3 separate regions of the Homo sapiens genome follow, and regions 1 and 2 are each linked to region 3. The links are contacts of gene promoters, found by promoter capture Hi-C in human tissues and cell types (Jung and others, 2019). All regions are on one chromosome and are shown on one strand. The core of a region is centred on a gene start or on the middle of the fragment in contact, and the rest is flanking DNA. Distances in the headings are between cores, read along the strand shown.

Region 1 (4,531 bases), core at 938-3,437, 1.8 Mb before region 3:
GTTGGGAAAAAAGGTTTTGAATGTATGTTGATATTAAAACATTATGAATAAAATGACATATCACAGATCTGCATCATAATAATTCAGTGCCTGATGGGAGCTGAGAAGGTATACAGGGTTTAGATGACACAAGGTTGACACGAGTTGAAAATTGTTGGCCGGGCATGGTGGCTCACGCCTGTAATCCCAGCACTTTGGGAGACCGAGGCGGGCGGATCACCTGAGGTCGGGAGTTCGAGACCAGCCTGACCAACATGGAGAGACCCCGTCTCTACTAAAAAATACAAAATTAGCCGGGCATGGAGGCACATGCCTGTAATCCCAGCTACTCCAGAGGCTGAAGCAGGAGAATCGCTTGAACCTGGGAGGCAGAGGTTGCAGTGAGCCAAGCTCGCACCACTGCACTCCAGCCTGGGTGACAGAGGAAGACTCTGTCTCGAAAAAAAAAAAAAAAAAAGTAATGTATGTTGACATTTGAGGGAAGTCACTGAAAGAACAGAAAAACAATGAAATTACTGTAAACAAGCAGAAGGAAGAAGGAAGAAAGGAAACGTTTCAACAGAAGGAATAGAAGGAGAAAAATAAGCAAACAAAAAGGATAATAAACAAAGAAAATACACAAAATAATATGGTATAAAATAAGTCTCACTGCACATTTCAGTTGTGAACCCAAAAGTATGAAAGACAGATCTCAATCGATTTAGAAAGTGTGTTTTGCCAAGGTTAAGGATATTCCTGTGACACACAGCCTCGGTGTTACAGGAAAGCGGTCCCGATCCAGACCCCAAGAGAGGGTTCTTGGACTCCACACAAGAAAGAATTCAGGGTGAGTCCACAGATTAAAGTAAAAGCAAGTTTATTAGGAAAGTAAGGGAATAAAAGAATGGCTACTCCATAGACAGAACAACCCTGATGGCTGCTGGTTGCCCCCCCTTTTTTTTTTTTGAGACAGAGTCTTGCTCTGTCACCCAGGCTGGACTGCAATGGCACGATTCTCCTGCCTCAGCTTCCCAAGTAGCTGGGACTACAGGCACATATGCCATCATACCCAGCTAATTTTTGTATTTTTAGTAGAAACGGGGTTTCACCATATTGGCCAAGCTGGTCTCAAACTCCTGACCTCAGGTGACCCACCCGCCTCGACCTCCCAAAGTGCTGGGATTACAGGCATGAGCCACTGCACCTGTCTGGTTGCCCATTTTTATGGTTATTTCTTGATTATATGCTAAACAAGGGGTGGATTATTCATGCCTCCCCTTTTTTAGACCATATAGGGTAACTTTCATGCGTGTCTGTGTGCAGAGACCACCACACAGGCTTTGTGTGAGCAATAAAGCTTTTTAATCACCTGGGTGCAGGTGGGCTGAAGCGAAGGGAGATAGAGGTGGGGCTGTTTTATAGGATTTGGGTAGGTAGTGGAAAATTACAGTCAAAGGGGGTTGTTCTCTGGCTGGCAGGGGTGGGGGTCACAAGGTGCTCAGTGGGGGAGCTTTTGAGCCAGGATGAGCCAGGAGAAGGAATTTCACAAGGTAATATTGTCAGTTAAGGTAGGAACAGGCCATTTTCACTTCTTTTGTGATTCTTCAGGCCATCTGGATGAATACATGCAGGTTTGGGCTCAGAGGCCTGACAGTAACTTGCTGACATTTCCATGGCATTTGTAAGCTCTCACGGCACTGGTGGGAGTGTAGCAATGAGGATGACCAGAGGTCACTCTTGTAGCCATCTTGGTTTTGTTGGGTTTTAGCCGGCTTCTTTCCTGCAATCTGTTTTAACAGCAAGGTCTTTATGACCTGTATCTTGTGCTGATCTCCTGTGTTGTCCTGTGACTTAGAACGACTTAGTCTGTGAATGCAGCCCAGAAGGTCTCAGCCTTATTTCACCCAGCCCCTATGAAGATGGAGTTGCTCTGGTTCACACACCTCTAACATTAGGAAGTCCAGATGACACGTGCCTACTGTGGTTGGGGCACAGCTTGGATTTATACATTTTAGGGAGATATGAGACATCAATCAATATGTGTACGATGTACATTGGTTTGGCCTGGAAAGGTGGTGTTAGAAATAAGAGCTCAGAGTCATAAAGAAAATGAGCACTCAAACAAAAGATTTCTCAGCAAGCCAAATTTACTTCTGCAGAAAGGTGCAGCTTGCACCAGTCATGACTGCAAGAGCACACTGAGCGGGGGAGGGCAGGGGTTTTATCCCTAACGCAGTTCCTAGCACTTCTGTGTCCTTTCCCCATTGGCTGAGGTTGGACTTCACAATCTAAGCTAAGGTTTAAACTGAATAGGGTCTATTAGATGGGAAGGAAGAGGGACTGTCCTTTACTAGGCCAGAAGGACTTGTCTATCTAAGCACCGCAAAGGCGAGAAGGTTGTTTACAGAACAGGTAGCTAGGAGACAAGGAAGTACAAGGAAGTTGGTCATAAGAAACAAAGAACAGAGAACTAAAGCTTTTTGAAGATTAATTTATCATCTCTGACATTGGGACAACTGGGTGTAGGGTGGGAATTTCCAGGTCATAGGTAGATGAGAGACAAGGGGTGCATTCCTTTGAGTCTCTGATTAGCCTCCCACTGAATATGCAATTTACATGTGAGAGGAGGGTAGAGGAATAGTCACTTAGGCCTTAGTCTGGTTTAGTGAAACAATAGGGCAGAGGAAGCAATCAGATAGGCATTTGTCTCAAGTGAGCAGAAGGAAGACTTTGAGTTCTGTCTGTCCCTTGTCCACAAGGAATTTCCTTCTGGGAAACTTGTGAGGGAGGTATGCAGCTTTTTTTTTTTTTTTTTTTTGCTGTTGTTGTCAAACCTTTGTAGCTATGTTATTTAGGAATAAAATGGGAGGCAGGTTTGCCTGACATAGTTCCCAGCTTGACTTTTCCCTTTTGCTTAGTGATTTTTGGGGTCCCGAGATGTATTTTCCTTTCACACAGTAATCACTATAAATAGAGTCTGAGGGTAGAATCTATCAGATTGAACTGAAATAAACAAACTGTGAAGGAGACCATAAGAACCTCACCCAAATCTCCCAAAGTAAGAGTTCCCAGATTCTTCCAGCTCTGATATAACTTGTGTGTTTTGGATTTTTTTTTTTTTTTGAGATGGAGTCTTGCTCTGTCACCCAGGCTGGAGTGCAGTGGTGCGATGTCGGCTCACTGCTGCAACCTCCGCCTCCCAGTTTCAAGCAATTCTCCTGCCTCAGCCTCCTGAGTAGCTGGGACTAGAGGTGTCCATGACCACGCATGCCTGGCTAATTTTTGTATTTTTAGTAAAGATGGGGTTTCACCATGTTGGCCAGAATGGTCTCGATCTCCTGACTTCGTGAGCCACTGCGCCTGGCTGTGTGTTTTGGATTTTTTTGAGAGTCTGAACTAAAAGAGACTTTGGAGATCTAAATCCTCTCATTATAGTTGAGGAAACTGATTTAGGAAGGGAAAGCTACCTACTCAGGGTTACATATTAAATGAGAGCCAGGGAAACCAGAAACCAGAATCTCCTCCCAATCCAACAATTTTTCCTATTCACCAGAGATTCCCGATTCATCAACCACAGGACATAAGATTAGTCTAGAGCGGATGTCACTGGAAAGGGGTCCCAATCCAGACCCCAAGAGAGGGTTCTTGGACCTCGTGTGAAAAAGAAGTGAGAGCAAGTTTATTAGAGAAATAAAGGAATGAAAGATGACTACTCTGGCTGGGCGCGGTGGCTCACACCTGTAATCCCAGCACTTTAGGAGGCCGAGGCCGGTGGATCACAAGGTGAGGAGGTTGAGACCAGCCTGGCCAATATGGTGAAACCCCATCTCTACTAAAAATACAAAAATTAGCCAGGCATGGTGGCAGGCACCTGTAGTCCCAGCTACTCGGGAGGCTGAGACAGAAGAATTGCTTGAACCCGGGAGGCAGAGGTTTCAGTGAGCTGAGATCACACCCCCGCACTCCAGCCTGGGTGACAGAGCGAGACTCTGTCTCAATTTAAAAAAAAAAAAAAAAAGACTACTCCATAGGCAGAGCAGTGGCATGGGTTGGTCAAATGGGAATACTTACAGTTATTTCTCAATTATATGCTAAACAAGGGGTAGATTATTCATGAGTTTTCTGGGAATTCCTGAAACTGAGGGTTCCTTCCCCTTTTAGACCATATAGGGTAATTCCTTGGCGTTGCCATGGCATTTGTAAACTGTCACGGTGTTGGTGGAGTGTCTTTTAGCATGCTAATGTGTTATAATTAGCGTATAATGAGTGATGAGGGTGACCAGAGGCCACTTTCGTGGTCCTCTTGTTTCTGGTGGGGTTTTGGCCAGCTTCTTTAACGCATGCTGCTTTTTGTTTTTGTTTTTTTTTTTTTCTTTTTTTGGAGACCAAGTCTCGCTCTCGCCCAGGCTGGAGTGCTGTGGCGCGATCTCGGCTCACTGCAGGCTCTGCCCCTCTGGGTTCACGCCATTCTCCTGCCTCAGCCTCCCGAGTAGCTGGGACTACAGGCGCCCGCCACCTCGCCCGGCTAATATTTTGTATTTTTAGTAGAGAC
Region 2 (4,873 bases), core at 206-2,705, 1.5 Mb before region 3:
GGGTGCTGGAGTTTTTTAGATCTCCTGGATGATTTTAATGTGCAGTAGAGTTTGAGAACAGCTCGTCTGGTCTATCCTCCCAGAAGAGGAAACTTCACAGGGAGTGAAAATGACTTGGCCAGGGTCACACAGAGGGTTGCTGGCCATCCTGGGAGAGGATTCAGGTCTCTTGACTTTCTGGATTGAGGACTTTTGCTCCTACCAAGAAAATAAAAACAATAGCAACAACAACAATTTGGGTGGAGAGACAGGAGAGAGGAAGAGGCTTTTCCCCTGTCTTTATTCTTCCTTAAAGTTTGAATTGTTTTTAATGTCAAGCATGTTGTAATTTTAACACATAAAAAATATTAAGGACTGGTTGATATGGTTTGGCTCTGTGTCCCTGCTCAAATCTCATGTCAAATTGTAATCCCCAGCGTTGGAGGAGGGGCTTGGTGGGAGGTGACTGGATCATGGGGGTAGATTTCCTCCTTGCTGTTCTCAGGATAGTGAGTGAGTTCTCATAAGATCTGCTTATTTAAAAGTGTGTGGCACCTACCCCCTTCTCTCTTCCTTCTTCTCTGGCCGTGTAAGCCATGCCTCCTTCCTCTTCACCTTCTGCTATGATTGTAAGTTTCCTGAGGCCTCCCCAGCCATACTTCTTGTATAGCCTGCAGAACTGTGAGCCAATCAAACCTCTTTTCCTTATAAATTACCCAGTCTAAGGTAGTTCTTTATAGCAATGTGAGAATGGACTCATACACTGGTTAAAAAATAAATAATAAAGAAAACCCAGGATTCTAATAATAGTGACTATTTTATTGAGGCCCTTTCATGTGCTAGGAACTCTGTACACACTTGTTCATGCTATCCTCACTGTGTCTCTCCAAGGTGAGAAATTATTGTTCCATTTTGCGCTTTTTTGGGGAGGATCTCCAGGATTCTATGGTTTAGGCACTGGAATCTTGCTGAACGCAGAAAACTTGGATGACCTGTGGTTAGCACTTGGCTTGGCCCCTGTTAGGAGGTGGGCAGTGTGTGTGTGTGCAGCAGCCCTAAAGATCTTATCATAATTTCCTGTTTTCACTTATGGCTTGCTCTGTGGATCGCTGAACTTTGACCAGGAGCAGAGAACCAGAAACAAGGTGATATGTGCCCCTGCTTACCTTCCCCTGATCTCGCATCTCCTTCCTTCCCTTTTCTTCCCCTTTCTTTCCCTTTCCTTTCCTTCCCCTTGCATTTCCTTCCCCTTCCCTCCCGTTCCCTTTCTCCCCTTTTCCCTCTGATCTGGGTGGAGACAACCCACCTGCCTTTCCCTTTTTCATTTTGTTTCCTGAATCATTATACAAAAAGATACCTGCACCCATATGTTTAACCACAGCACTATTCAGAACAGCAAAGATATGGAATCAACCTGAGAGGCCATCAATGGAGGACAGGATAAATAAAATGTAGTATATATACCTATATAAATACACACGCAATGGAATACTATTCAGCCGTAAACATGAATGAAAATTTTTTTGTAGCAACACGGATGGAACTGGAGGCCATGATCATAAATGAAACATCTCAGACACAGAAAGACAAATGCTTGTATGTTCTCACTTGTAAGCAGGGGCTAAATAATATGTACACATGGAAGCAGAGTGTGGGGTGATGGACGGTGGAGACTTGGAGGTGTGGAGGAGGTCAGGTGCGCAGGCAATAGGTGGTTGCCTGGTGGGTATAATGCGTGTGGCTCCAGTGATGGACGTACTGAAGGCCCTGACTTTAGCACAGTGCAACACATCAGTGTAGCAAAAAATAAATTTGGTTCTGACATAGTCTTGCAGCCTAACTATGCACTATAGAGGAAATGATTAAAAATGTAATTATTATTTTCATTTTTCAACAAGCCCAATGGATAATGTTTGCCTACTTTATTAGATTAGATGTAAAGGCGATAAAAAAAATAATAAATAGTTAATAGCATTTTTTGAAGCTTACTCCTTCCAGGCTCTCTCCTTGACCTGTTTAAACTCATTTAAATCTCACAAGTCTATGAGGCATAGCCTCACAGCCCCATTTTGCAGATTGGAAAATCGAGGCACAGAGATGAAATGAGCTGGTGCTTGGAAATGGCCCAGTCTGTGGCTGCCAGACATCTGGGAAGTGTGCGTTCATGGGTTTCCTCTTACTCTCTCTGACAGCTGTCTAATCAAATCCCAGTGCTTGCTGTGAGGACGCCCTGCAAGCCTTCCTTGGCTGAGGGTCCTTAACAAGGGAGATGTCGCCCCGTCGCTTCACCTCAGTTTCCCCTGCTCGGCTCTGCCTTTCTCTCCGAGGTGCTGGGAGGATTCTGTAAATAGTTCCCTCGAGGTGCTGGAAGCACTGGGTGGAGAAACTCACTATAAATACCCGGCACTTATAATTAGCCTTCATGGCGGCACAGTTCTGCATGTGGGGGAGGCGAACACCTGCAGGGGCAGAAAGTCAAAATGCAGGGGCCCAGGTCTCTCCAGAACTGCTTCTTGGCACCACCTGAGCCAGAGAAGACCCATGCTGAGTGAAGAATCCCAGATAAGAACACAGTGGCCCCCCGCCCCCGATCTTGCTGCAGCTGCAGACAAGAGCATTAAGGGCTGGTAGGAGCTCCTGGCTCCATTACTCCCTGTGAGACCTGCAAATTAGTGCAGTCCTCTGAGCCTCAGTTTCCACATCTGTAAGCTGGTGTAGTATACGATAAAAGACATCTGGTGGCTATAAGATTAATGGTAGCCATAAAACCCATCCGAGCATCTTGCGGGGCTGACACTACCTGTCACTTAGTATGATGCAGCCTGGCCCCGGGATTTCCAGGAGACAAAGTTAAATCGGCACAGATATAACTTTCATAAATCTTAAAATAAAGCTTATCCTCACAAGAATAGCTTAAACTCCTTTTATGTAAGAAACACCTGGTAAGGGACCTGGACTGAATATGGATAGAAGGAAGGGGGAAGGATCCCTCAAACTTTGATAATGGTCTCTGGATGGACACCCTCCCGGTCAGTCCGTCATCTGACCCCTGGCTGTGTCTGGCCATGCCACCAGCCTCCTGCTCCCACTGTCTGTCTCATAAGAAGATGCCAGAATAAGCTCCTTAAGCATCAGACTTATGTGCTAAGACTCATCTTTGGCATGGATCAAATGGAAGGAGAGAAGTTACCCCTGGGGAAACTTGTCAACTAGGACCACCTGAAACCCCTGATCATGACGGTTGGAGATAATCACTCCTACTGTGAATAATTAAAGATACTGTGTATAAAGCTCCCAGTATTGGTGCATGGAGTAGGTACTTGACACATTCAAGGTTCTTGTTCCCTTTGTGTGCACAACAGGGCAGACAGCATCTAAGGTGCAATCAGATGGCCCTCTCCCACTTAAAGACTGTCTTAGGCTCCCCATTGGTGGCAGAGGCACCCCATGCCTATGTCTTGCCCCCATGCTCCTCCTCTGTGTTGATATTAACTTCTTCTTCCTCTTTTTTTTTTTTTTTTTTTTTTGAGATGGAGATGGAGTTTCACTCTTGCCACCCAGGCTGGAGTGCAATGGCATGATTTCGGCTCATTGCAACCTCTGCGTTCCAGGTTCAAGCGATTCTCCTGCCTCAGCCTCCTGAGTAGCTGGGATTACAGGCATGTGCCACCATACCAGGCTAATTTTTGTATTTTTAGTAGAGACAGGATTTCACCATGTTGGCCAGGCTTGTCTCGAACTCCTAACCTCAGGTGATCCACCCATTTTAGTCTCCCAAAGTGCTGGGATTACAGGCATGAGCCACTGCGCCCGGCCGCTGATAGTAACTTCTCACTCCACCTCAAGAGTGTGCCTTGAGTCTTTCTGCTTTCTGCCTTCAGGTCTTCTTGGATGCTGTTGAAACCTGCTTAGTCTGTGCAAAAGTCTAGCCCAGAAGTACTGAGTTAACAGCCCGGGAGGCGATCATCAAGATAAATGTGCCACTATCCCTCCTTCAGGTAGAAAATTCCAGGAGGCTTCCTGCATGCTTTTCGCGAGGTCCTTGCAGCACAGAGCTTCTGTTGTTCTCAGTGGTGACCTTGATGATGGACATGTATATTGGTTTGTCTCCTAAATCTTTTCCTTTCCTTGTTCCTGCTTCCAGAAATCAACTTCCAAATCAACCACCTGCACCCAAATCCTGTCTCAGGCTCTGCTTTTGGAGAAGTCAACCCATGAGATCATCACATCTGGAATAAGTTCCAAATTCCTTGCTGTGGCTGCAGGGCCCTGCACAACGCTCTTCTGCCATTCCAACCTCACATCTGCTACCACTCTTGCCCACACCTGCCACATCCAGCCACACCGGCCTCCAGTCACTTTTCTTTAACTTGCCAAGCAATCCCTCCTCAGGGCCTTTGCACATGCTGTTCCCTCCCCCTTCCCCTTCTTCTATGTTAATCAGTCCTTCCTACAGCTCTCAACTTAAATACCAGTCCCTTAGAGAGTGTCGCTTCCTCCTCGCCTCTGATCTCTTGCGGGTTCCAACACCATTTATTCTCTCTCACAACAAATTGTTTCCTTTTCCTTGTACTATTTGAAGTTGTGTATTCATCTGAATGTTTATTTGTTAATTACCTGACTCCTTTTAGACTGTAAACACCATGTGAATAGAGATGACTTCTGTCTACTTCCATGAGCTCTAGAGCATCCACAAGCTCCTTACACATGAGACGTGAGTATTCATTGAATGAAGGTGGGATTCAGGTTGGTCAGTTTCTCCTGCATCCCAAGCTTACTCTACTCTGTTAGGCTATGGGATATTGGCAGAGGACTTTAAGGGAGGTGGGGCATGGGGGAGGGTTAAGAAGTAAGGGAGGCAAGAAAAGCCAGTCTCCATCCTCACCTTCCTTGC
Region 3 (4,703 bases), core at 1,667-4,166:
TAGACCTGTCTCTTTTCTGATGTCCAACCCCAACAAACCTCATTCAAAGACGAGGAACTGAGGTTCAGAGACATGAATGACTTGCCTAAGTTTCCATAGACAGCCACTACCAGTGGCCAACTCTCTACTCCATCTGGCTTCAGGGTCTGTGGTCCATTCCACATACTACACTGTCTCTCTAGGAAGACATCCCCTTGTCCCCAGGCACCTTGGCCCTGGCAGATTATCTACGGCAAGGGTTACAAGTTTTGCCTTAAGGCATAAGCACCTCCCCACTTCATGATTAGAGGTTTTATGACTTTGCACTTGTAATCATTGTTTCTGCTCATTTTGCTGTGTGCTAAACATTTTATGAGGATTAACTCATTTTACCCCAAGGATATGTCACAGAGAGGTTAAGATCAGACACTAAGTGGCAGATTTGTGCTCTCGACCCAGATAAGAGGTCTCCAGGGACCAACCTCTCGGCCTCTCTACCGTGGTCCTCCTCATGCTTTGAACTTCGCCTTGGCAAAGTTGGGGCACAACAACCAATCCTTTAGCTGGGAACTGGGTGGGGGCAGAAACAGAGAGAGCCTCTACTTCAGACCATGCTGCCCAGCTGGGTGGTCCTAGAGAATCTGCCAGAATTTCAGCTCTTTTCCCATGCAATGCCCCAGGAGAAAAGACGCAGGCCTCTGAACAGAGATGAGACAATGTGCAGGGAACTCAAAGCCAGAGGGCGTGGGCAGGGGCTAAGAGGGAGGGGACCTTGGAGGGAAGGAATATGACATCCTCAGGACCTGTCCAAAGTTCTTGGAGCAAACCCAGCTATGCAAGTGAGGTTCCTGCAGTAGCCTCCACTCCAGCATCTCATTCTCATTAGCTGCAACTGATCTTATTAGCTATCCTGGGTCAGTTTGGATTTTGGCAAGCCTAGATTTGGCAATGGCCTCAACACAAAGATCGCACGGGGTAAGCAGGGATGCGCTGACACCCAGGAATGGATTCCACGAGGCAGCCTGCTGGGGGATGGCATTGAGTTCCAGCTCTGCCCCTTCCTGGCTTCATGACCTTTGCAGAGCCTTGGCGCTTCCTCTGACAAGTGGGGACTTGGGACCCAGCAGTCCCCAAGTCCCCATTGTAAATGTGAGGACTGGGGCTTGTGTCAGGGATCCTAGCACCTTAAGGGTCCTGGAGGGGTTGGGGCCAGCTGTCTCCCACAGGCTGGGTGACCTTGAGCAAGTCTCTTCCCCTTTTGTGCCTCTGTGTGTTTAACTGTCAAATGAAGGGGCCACGTCTTTAATGCAGAAGCCCTTTTAGGTCTTAGGACTCCAGACTGGACCATTTACCTCTCCCCGTGGCTAACCTCTTTGGGCCTCGAGAAAACACATTTCTCTATGACTCCACGCCGCAACACAGGCTCCAAAGAGCAAGACACAACTCACTGCCTCCCTCTCTCCTGCCTCCCAACCTGACCCACCAGAGAAGAGCTCTTCCCACCCCCTCCCCACCCCCAGGTCACCAACATCCTGTCCCTTAGTCTAGCTTCATCAAAGCAGCAAAGCCAACACTGTCTCCTCCCCAGTGGATGGGCCCAGCAGCACCCATTTCTCTTGGCTGAGTGCCCAGGGAATTCCACCAGGCAATGTCCACAGGCGCTTGCGGGGGTGCACACTTTAGGGGGGAAATGCGGGCCCTCTTGGAAGAGGGCCAGCTGTCCTCCCAGACTGCAAGAGAGAATGCATTGAACACAGCCTTTGTGCGTGTGTTGGGGCAGGGAGCGGGGGAGAGGTGGCGGGTGGTCTCTGCTGGTCCTGCTGCCTCAGAGGCCATCTCTGTTGTCAGAGTTTGAAGACTCCTGGAAGGGCCTCTAGGCCCCAGATCCCAGTTTTAAGAGCTCCAGTCTTACTAAATCTCGCTGAACCCCCTCTAGTCTTACCTTGGCCAGGGTGGGTGAGGAAAGGTGAGAGGATGTGAAATAGGTGGGGCAGCCAGGTGTGGGAGTGGAGTTGGGGTGAGGTGGAGAAGGATGGGATTGGGAGCGGTGGGAGGATGGTGCAGGGGGTTACTAGGATGGGGTTTGTGTGAAAGGGCTTGGGTGGAGTGGAGGGAGGTGGATGACTTGGAGGGGTGGCCAGACCTTTGCCCTGCTCCTGAGTATGAAGGTCCCTCATTTTACATCTTTACTGGGGAGGAGAGGGGAAATCCCCAAAAGCCTTTAATGTGGTGGTGTCAGAGGCCACCCTGCCTCTCTGACGGGTAGGGAGGGGTCTCCGGCAGGGCTAAGGGTGAATCATCTATCTCTCCAGAGCCCAGTATCTGGGGTGGGAGGGTGACTTGCAGAGTCTCTGCTCCGGGATTTCCTTGTCTTATGATGGGGGGAGAGCTTCCATTTGTCATGGAGGGGGAGGTCACTGTAATTTATAAGCTGAGAAGACCCCCATTATTCCGAAAGAGAGGGGAGAAGGAAGACACCCAAACTTAGTTTTCTAAGGATGGGGAAGGGGCATCAGTCTCCCAAGAGGTGAGGGGGCTCTAGAGACCTGGAGACCACTTTTTGGGGCCGCATTCTATTTCAAGCGGTAAAAGGGAGAGGACTTCTGTCTAGAGCTGGAGCCAGGAGGAAGGGCCCATTTCTGAAGGAGAAAGGAAGGTATTTTGCTCTCTGGGGGGTGGGAGCCCCTGTCTTTTCGGGGGAGGGCCCCGCGTCTTGGGAAGATGAGGGCTCCGTTTCCAGGAGAAGATGCCCAGGTTTTGCTCCTGGGGGCAGGGCAGAAGGACCTCCTCTCGGCTCCCCTCGGAAGGGCCCGTCCCAAGCCACCCGGCGCCTCGCGCTCACCTCCAGGCCCCGTCTCCGATCTGCGGGATCCGATCCGCCGGGTTCCGACTTGCGGGATGCGCGCCCCGAGTTCCGGCAGCGCTGGGTGTCTGCTCGACTTCCCCCAGCGACTCGCCGGACTCCCTGGCTCCGCCGAGCGTCCCGGCCAATCAGCGCCGCCAGCCCCGGCCCTCGCTTTCGCCACAGCCAATGGGTGCGCCCGCCACGGGCCACCGCCCCCAGGAGGGAGGTGGCAGGCGGGGCGGGGGCAGAGTCCAGCCTCCGGGGGCGGGGGAGACGGGGGCTGGGGCGGGACCCACCAGAGGGACCGCGAGGGCTGGGAGGGAGTCCTGGGACTGGGGAGGAGACGGCTGAGGACCCCCGTCAAGTTGTGGGGACCCTGACCCTCTGGGGGGCAGCTCCATAGGTTGATTTAACCTGGATCTTAATGGGCCATTTACACCCTCAGGGCTGCAGGCGAGTGTAACTCCACCTCCACCCGCGTCTCGGATCCGGTCTCTGGAGCTCCAGAGTCGGAATCAGAAGGGGTTCCTTTGCGGAGAAGGGAAGGAGCATCCCGCCCTCCCCACCTCACTCCCCATCTCGGCGCTCAGGGCCCTGCCAGCCCTTCTTGCTCCCAGCTACTTTCCTCCGCCTGGCCCCAGCGCTCCGGAAGACAAACAGGGCGCTGGGAGTCAGAGGTGGTTCCTTCTGCATGACCTGGAGCAGGTCACTGCGCCTCCTGATCCTCAATTTCCTGAAATTGGGACAACAGAGATTGTACCTCCTTCGTGGGTATAAACGAGACCCTAGATATGATGAAGGTGCCTTTCTACCGTTGTATAAAATGCTGTGTGGAAGATAATTAATACTCAGGTGTGACGGATGGATAGCCCCCCCACAGCTTTCTAGAGGTATTTGGAAAGAGGATGCAATCTTTCAGTGACAAAATCAAAGACACAAAGAACTGCTCATCAAGACAACAGGCGATCACCAAGTCCTCATAATGAATGAATGGATGGATGGAGAGTACAGACCTTAAAGGCAGAGAAAGAGTTCAGCTTGGTTCTCCCCACTCACCCTGATCACTGATAACTTGGTCTGTGGAGTCTTGTAGAACCCTGAGGTCTCTCCTCCTGCTGTCCAGGAATCCAGGCTGCCCTATCTCTGATTACACAAGCGCTATAGTCCTTGCAATTAAAGAATTAAGATAAAGTAAACACATAGATAAATAGAAAGCTGCCAAACAAATCATTCACCTCCTAGTGTCACCTCTGGGGACCCTCCCCCCCAACACACACACACACACACACACACACACACACACACACACACAGAGCAGTAAATAAGAATAATTGAGGCCTGGCACAGTGGCTTACGCCTGTAATTCCAGCACTTTGGGAGGCCGAGGCAGGCAGATCACTTGATGCCCAGAGCTCGAGACCAGCCTGGCCATCATGGGGAAACCCCCTTTCTATTAAAAATACAAAAATTAGCCTGGCATGGTGGCACCTGCCTGTAATCCCAGCTACCTGGGAGGCTGAGACATGAGAATCGCTTGAATGGAGAGGCAGTGGTTGCACTGAGGTGAGATGGCACCACTGCACTCTAGCCTGGGTGATTGTCACCTTGCTTGAGGAACTTGATGAGGCCTGTGCTGAAAATCTAGCAATTTTTTCTTAAAACCAAAGCCATGAACATAATCCCCTTTACTACCCTTGACCTGCCCAAAGAAATACAACGGCCAATAAACATGGGAGATGACACTTTGAAAAGGAAAGGCAAGTTAAAACCAAAAGAGGGAAAGAGTTTACCTACCAAAATGACCTTGTTTTTATTATTATAATTACTATTCTTTGCAAAGACTTCAAGGAGTTTCATGTATTGATGATGGCAGTAGAAA

Evidence for each region. The method cuts DNA at HindIII sites, captures the fragments that hold promoters and counts their contacts. A contact is called where the count stands out against the background at its distance.
Region 1: a contact is called between a fragment that was not itself captured here and the fragment with the promoter of ABAT in region 3, in 1 of the 25 tissues and cell types used here (mesenchymal stem cells).
Region 2: a contact is called between a fragment that was not itself captured here and the fragment with the promoter of ABAT in region 3, in 1 of the 25 tissues and cell types used here (lymphoblastoid cells).

The regions. Positions count from the first base shown.
Region 1 is chr16:10,502,593-10,507,123 of GRCh38, reverse strand. No RefSeq gene overlaps it. Among named protein-coding and RNA genes, the nearest start is that of LINC01290, 23 kb to the left of the region's middle. RefSeq lists an enhancer at 2,371-3,178. The HindIII fragment of the contact is 3,947 bases long and covers 214-4,160 here.
Region 2 is chr16:10,216,193-10,221,065 of GRCh38, reverse strand. LOC107984900 (a long non-coding RNA gene) reads left to right here and starts at 3,906. Exons shown (of 3, transcript XR_001752076.3): 1 at 3,906-3,977; 2 at 4,611-4,693. The HindIII fragment of the contact is 4,714 bases long and covers 1-3,812 here.
Region 3 is chr16:8,672,830-8,677,532 of GRCh38, reverse strand. ABAT (4-aminobutyrate aminotransferase) reads right to left here and starts at 2,916. Exons shown (of 16, transcript NM_020686.6): 1 at 2,822-2,916. RefSeq lists a silencer at 2,864-3,323 and enhancers at 2,918-3,417, 3,418-3,919. The HindIII fragment of the contact is 24,430 bases long and covers 1-4,703 here.